Linked DNA regions of Homo sapiens: region 2 is linked to region 1. The links are contacts of gene promoters, found by promoter capture Hi-C in human tissues and cell types (Jung and others, 2019). All regions are on one chromosome and are shown on one strand. The core of a region is centred on a gene start or on the middle of the fragment in contact, and the rest is flanking DNA. Distances in the headings are between cores, read along the strand shown. Region 1 holds the start of SHISA4 (shisa family member 4). Region 2 overlaps NAV1 (neuron navigator 1).

The links. The method cuts DNA at HindIII sites, captures the fragments that hold promoters and counts their contacts. A contact is called where the count stands out against the background at its distance.
Region 2: a fragment that was not itself captured here is called in contact with the fragment with the promoter of SHISA4 in region 1 in 1 of the 25 tissues and cell types used here (H1 embryonic stem cells).

The regions. Positions count from the first base shown.
Region 1 is chr1:201,887,391-201,890,314 of GRCh38, forward strand. SHISA4 (shisa family member 4) reads left to right here and starts at 1,508. Exons shown (of 5, transcript NM_198149.3): 1 at 1,508-1,677; 2 at 2,055-2,226. The coding sequence starts at 1,605. RefSeq lists enhancers at 1,001-1,510, 1,351-1,645. The HindIII fragment of the contact is 16,044 bases long and covers 1-2,924 here.
Region 2 is chr1:201,753,798-201,757,067 of GRCh38, forward strand. All of the region lies in intron 7 of NAV1 (neuron navigator 1), which reads left to right. The region is part of intron 2 of IPO9-AS1 (IPO9 antisense RNA 1); the gene reads right to left. LOC124904483 (a long non-coding RNA gene) reads right to left here. Exons shown (of 2, transcript XR_007066790.1): 1 at 1-3,270. Among named protein-coding and RNA genes, the nearest start is that of MIR5191, 36 kb to the left of the region's middle. The HindIII fragment of the contact is 4,379 bases long and covers 1-3,270 here.

The sequences.
Region 1 (2,924 bases), core at 258-2,757:
AGCTTTTAGTGTAGGAAAGAGGAGATGGATGGCAATGGGCACACTGAGTAGGTGGTGCTGGATTCAGAGGCGTTTCTCTTTGTCCCTGCTGCTGCATTTATGACTGTGTCCTGCGTGAGGACATACTCTTGCCCATCAGGCTACCAGCAACTTTCTGGGGCAGGAGCCTATCCTCTCCTATTCCAGCTCTCTTGGGTAGGTGTGCCAGCACCCACAGGGGCCCAGGATGGGGTAGCTCCTCTTTCGGCTGTCCTTCCCTAACCTACTAAGATTCTACTGGGCCTTCCATGGACCTGTCCTGATTCTCTCACCCCAGAACACAAGAAATACTCACTGTCTACACTGTCTGCTGTTGCGGCTGGGGATCAACCCTGATTTAGATTTGGGTCTTCCTGATGCCTCTACCATTTACTGGCTGTATTACCTTGAACAAGTTCTTTAACCTCCATGAGTCCTAGTTTCTCAGTCTGTGAAATGCGATTGATAACACTGATGAACCTTGCTTAGTTCATGGAGTTGTGGAAAGATTCCAGTGAGGTAGATGTGGAAGCCCAGAAGTGTGTGAAAGGGTGTACATGGCAGGGGATTAAGGTAGGCTTTTGATGATCTCCCTGGCTTAATTTGCAGTTCCTCGGAGGGTACCTCATGTAGCATGGGGCATAGTCACTGGCACTCAGTATAAACCTGTGAAGACTGACCTCTCCCATCCTAAAACACTGTCTCCACCTGGAATTAACTGTTGCCCACCTGAAATTAACTGTTGCCCTCCCTATGCTCCGGTGGCTATTGCAGTACAGGCTTGCTCTGTGAAGGGCTTTCACTGTGAAGAGTGTTTAACTGGATGGGCCCCAGGTGGCCCCAGCAGCCTGCCTTCCCTGCTAGTGAGGCCATGGGCTGGTGCATGCCAGCTCTGTCCACTTGAAGGGGGAAGGGTCCATCGTAGGGAGCCAGTGCAGCTGGCAGGGTTCAGGCCTGTGGGCACCGCTGGGGACAAAGCCACTCTGAATGCCTCTCAATGAGTGCTTGTGTTCTGGGAATGGGGGCGGGGTGACATCCAGCCTCTTTCCCTCTCCGCCCCCGACAGGATGTCCCAGGCTGGACGCGGCAGAGGAGGTCCCCCACAAGTGAAGGTCCAGCCCTGCTCCTCCAGGGTTGGCCCATGTGTCTGGGCATTCGGAGGTGGCACCAGGATCAGGGCTTCTGGAGTCCAGCATAGTGATTGGGCCCAGGCCGGGGGCGGGTCCAGGACACAGCCAGGCTTCCCTGGCCGCAGTGCCCAACTGCCCGCAGTGCCCATGGTGGCTCGGATGGGAGGAACCACCGCGGAGCCGGGGACAGGGGGAGCAGGGCAGTGCTCTGCTGGGTGAGGGGCACCCAGCTCCAGAGGCTAGGTGGGCGTCGCTGGTGGGTGGACTCCTGGGCGCTGCGCGGAGCCGCGCCGGCTGGGTTAGCGCGGGCGGGGCGCTTAGTCCCACCCCCAGAGGAGGCGGAAGAGGAGCCCGAGCCTGGCCGCGGGCTGGGCCCCGCCGCAGCTCCAGCTGGCCGGCTTGGTCCTGCGGTCCCTTCTCTGGGAGGCCCGACCCCGGCCGCGCCCAGCCCCCACCATGCCACCCGCGGGGCTCCGCCGGGCCGCGCCGCTCACCGCAATCGCTCTGTTGGTGCTGGGGGCTCCCCTGGGTAAGGGGATGGGGAGAGATGCGGCAGGAGTGGGATGGGGGCGGAGGAAGGGGAGGGACCGATCCGAGGGGCTTGGGCTCGGGGCTTCTCCGAGACCCTCCGGCTGCCACGGGAGCCTTGGGTGTTGCTGGGTCCTCAAGAAGCGGGAAGAGGGAGCTCCAGGATGCTGGGCCATGGGAGGCTGATCCCGGGGTGCAGGGTCAGCTTCAGGCAGAGGCCTCGGGGGCTCTGGGGCTGAGACCCTCAGGGTGGAGACAAGGGGCAACCCTCAGTGTTCGGGAGCCGTCAGGCTGGGGACCGCCGGGGGAGTGGGGCCGAGCGCGGCTGGGGATGAACTGGCCTGGTGGCCACTGGGCACCCCCAATCCCTGCCCGCAGTGCTGGCCGGCGAGGACTGCCTGTGGTACCTGGACCGGAATGGCTCCTGGCATCCGGGGTTTAACTGCGAGTTCTTCACCTTCTGCTGCGGGACCTGCTACCATCGGTACTGCTGCAGGGACCTGACCTTGCTTATCACCGAGAGGCAGCAGAAGCACTGCCTGGCCTTCAGGTGGGTTCCTGCCTCCTCACCCTCACCACCTCCTCTATCCTTTTCTCCAGAGGCCTCCTCTTCCTCCCTCCCGGACTCCTGCCTCCTCCGTTGTCGACCTCCACATTCTTAGCTGAATAGAGTCACCAGGACTCAAGCCTGGCGGCAGAGCTAGGTGCTTAGGTGCTGGTGCCTGGGAGTTCCAGAAAAGGCATGTTAGTTACCTTCATAGGCTTTGACTGGGCCCGGGGTTTCCAGGTTCTTTCTGGAGCCCTCCCTTTGGTCCTGCCAGGTCATGGGGAGGGAGGGTTCAAGGTTAACACCCGGACGACAGTGTAGCTTTGTGGAAGAAGCTCTGGCACAAAGGCAGGAGACTTGGGTTTGATTCCCAGGTCCACTTCTTACTAGCTGTGTGATCTTGGAGAAGACACTTGCCTTCTATGGGTCATTGCTTGCCAAATTAGTGGTTGTCAAACTTTTTTTTAATATATCATATATAAAATAGATATAGAGACTTCTGATTGAAGCGGGGTTTGGAAAAAATGGCTCTAGATTATTTCTAAGGCTCCTTTCAGTGTTATGCTGTATGTCTAATCATTTAAGTTGTAGATATAAAAGCAATGGTTGGGGGCGCACTGCAAATCCCCGTATGCTTCACACTAGCCAGCCAGGCAGCATAGCCTTCTGGGAAGTGGAGGTCCTCTAAGATCTCCTTCACA
Region 2 (3,270 bases), core at 143-2,642, 130 kb before region 1:
AGGGCTAGCTTCTGTTTGGTGGGTAAATGTGCATATGATTATTGTTGTTACACAAAAGAAGGGACCAATAAAGTCCTGATGTGACTTTCCCAACTACAGAAACCCAAGAAAATTCTTTGCCAGAAGTAGATACATTGTCATTCTGATGGCAGATGACTACCCAAAGAAGGGGAAAGTGAAGGAAAGCTGGAATCTGGGAACTTGCAATGGGATAAAGTTGCTTTGAAGAAAGCACTTAGCAAGTGTTTTTTTTCCATATTGCCTTCTTTCCTGCCACAGACCCTAAGATTCTCTAATCACCTCTGTTCCGGGGAAAATATTTTAATATAACCCCTTGATTCATTCAACAAGTATTTATGGAGAATCTACTCTGTGCCAGACCCTTCCACCCAACCTCTCATACCCTATACAGGAAGATACTCTGCCATCATGTTTGCCAATGGGACAGGACTCCCAAGGGAATAGGTAGAAGAGGAACACCAGTAAGTCAAGAGCCACATATAATGAAAGACCAAAGTGTAAAAGGTGGGCAGAGGAGGAAGAAGGAATCTGGATAAGCAGGAACAGAAAGAGAATGCTGTCACCGAGGCTAACAGAGGGAAGAATTTCAAGGAGTGACTGACAGTGTTAAATGCAACGCAGAAGTCAGAAAGGATGAAAAAGTCCTAGTTGAATTAGCAATGTAGAGATCTTTGGTAACCCTTGCCAAAGAGATTTCAGTGAAGCAGTGGAAATGAAAGCCAAGTTCCAATGAGTGGGGGAGTAAATGTGAGGTAAGGTGGAGAGGCGATGAGTGTAGTAGTTGAAAGGAGAGACAGCTGGTAGCCTACAAATGCAGGCGAAAAGTTCTCTCCATGTGGCTCATGAGTGATGAGGCAGCAGGATCAAACTAGACATAACTATCTCCTGCTCTATCTGCTTTTACCTTTTTAATCCTATGATCTATGCTAGAAAATTTTTTATTTTATGTTATTTGTACCACAGGATTTGATTTTATTTTGTCCTGTTATATTAACTAAACCAGTTTTTAAAAATAGGGAAATAATGCGTTTCATTCAATATGTACAATGGACCCTCCCAATAAATTAGCAATAAATTTACATAATTTGTCTCAAACAATGGAATTATGCTACAATGTTAAAGAATATGTCATATCAGGTATAATGTTTAAAAATGCCAGTCAGGAACAGAGGAATGACTTTAGATAATTTGAGATACAACTTTAGAGAAATTAGTGCCTTTAGACATCAGTAATAAGAATTCAGAGTAAAGACAACATGTTACTTAATACCTTGCCTTAAATATGCCCCAGTTGACATTTTGTACACATTTCAACATTTTTCAGCAACACTAGAAAGAATCAACAAATACTCTCTTATCTCTAAAATAACAATTAAATATTTTGCATAAAAACATTTAAAAACTTAAGATATTATCTTATTTCCCCTGCCTGGGCAACAAATTGAGGCCCCCCCTCTACAAAAAATTTAAAAATTAGCCAGGCATGGTGGCACAGGCCTGTGGTCCCAGTTACTTGCCTGAGGCAAGAGGAGGTCAAGGCTGCAGTGAGCCATGATTACACCACTGCACTTCAGCCTGGGCAACAGAGTGAGACTCTTGTCTCAAAAAAAAGAAGAAAGAGAAGAAGAGGAGGAGGAGGAGGAAGAAGAGAAAGAGGAGGAAGAGGAAGAAGATATACTTATTTTAGCTTAACTTAGTTTTTATTGTTATTTGAAAGGGCAGTAATGATTGGCTATCAACATTGCTGCAGGATAGGAACTAAACTGGTTTCCATGACCAGATATAGGCTAGGAAAACTTGCATTCTTAGTTCAATTTTAGTTAGAGGCTGCAAGACAAGAATCATAGTAGTGTGGTTTGTGAGATTTGGCAATTAATGCACTTACACATTAGTTGCTTTATGTCTGGAAAGACCTGGAAGGTGAAAGTCATTAAAATAAACCTCCTCCTTATGCCTGGCGTGGAGAAGAGGCTCCTAGAAGAAACACAGCTTTAAAAAAAGTTGTGGGCTGGGCACGGTGGCTCACACCTGTAATCCCAGCACTTTGGGAGGCTAAGGTGGGTGGATCCCAAGGTCAGGAGATCGAGACCATCCTGGCCAACATGGTGAAACCCCATCTCTACTAAAAATACAAAAAAATTAGCTGGGCGTGGTGGTGCATGCCTGTAATCCCAGCTACTCAGGAGGCTGAGGCAGGAGAATTGCTTGAACCAGGGAGTCAGAGGTTGCAGTGAGCTGAGGTTGCGCCATTGCACTCCAGCCTGGTGACTGAGTGAAACTCTGTCTCAAAAAAAAAAAAAAAAAAAAAGTGGTGTAGGGTGGGCAGAATAGATCCAGCATGAAAAAGTTGCCACTTAACAGTTTAATTACTACTAAGGAGCAGTGTTCCAAGTAACAGACTGAAAATTGGGGAAAAAAATAAACAAATATGGGCATAATGCAGAGCCTATATAAAAATATTTAAATCTTCAGTTCTCATGTGTTTTTCTAGATTTTCTGTAGTCTGTAGCGCTATAATCATATTTTCAGACATTTAAAAAGCTTAGTTCCCTGAATGCTTCATACTTCCTTGCTAATTCTGGAGCAAAACCATTTTACCAACTCTTCATATTGTTTTATGTCTCCCTACAAAATATCAACACAAGGCACAAGAAGTGTCTCAGGGCCCTCTACATTTTATAACTAAACATTTGGTCTCTCTGGCCAAATAGACTGATGGTGTCCTGGGTTGTTGCCAAGTAGGGAAGACTCTGCAGTCTCCTTCATAATGCCTTAAAATCCCTACTTCCTTGCTGCCTAGCTTTTTAGTCAATATTTTGCCTTCATGTGACTCAATATGTAGAAATTCTCTGCATTTTCACCCTGAAGAAAAATTCCTTCTCCAGACCAATAGGTTTTCTTCTCCAGCACATCCCACATTTTTTATAGTTCCTTCTCCAGGTGTCTGGAAAAGGGCAAAGAACTAATGAGCAATTCTCTTTCTTTCTTTCCTTCTTTCTTTCTTTCTTTCTTTCTTTCTTTCTTTCTTTCTTTCTTTCTTTCTTTCTTTCTTTCTTTCTTTCTTTCTCTGTCTTTCTCCCCACTACTTTGGCTTTCTTTGTGATTGATCAGAAAATGATTCACTCTTAGCCCCAAAAGTTTCCTTCTGTGGTCACAATAATAGTGGCAGGTCTGGCATAGGAGTATGTTAAAGTAGGCTGTCCACAAGAGCCCTACTGTTATACGGACCTATGCGGCACTTATGGTTCT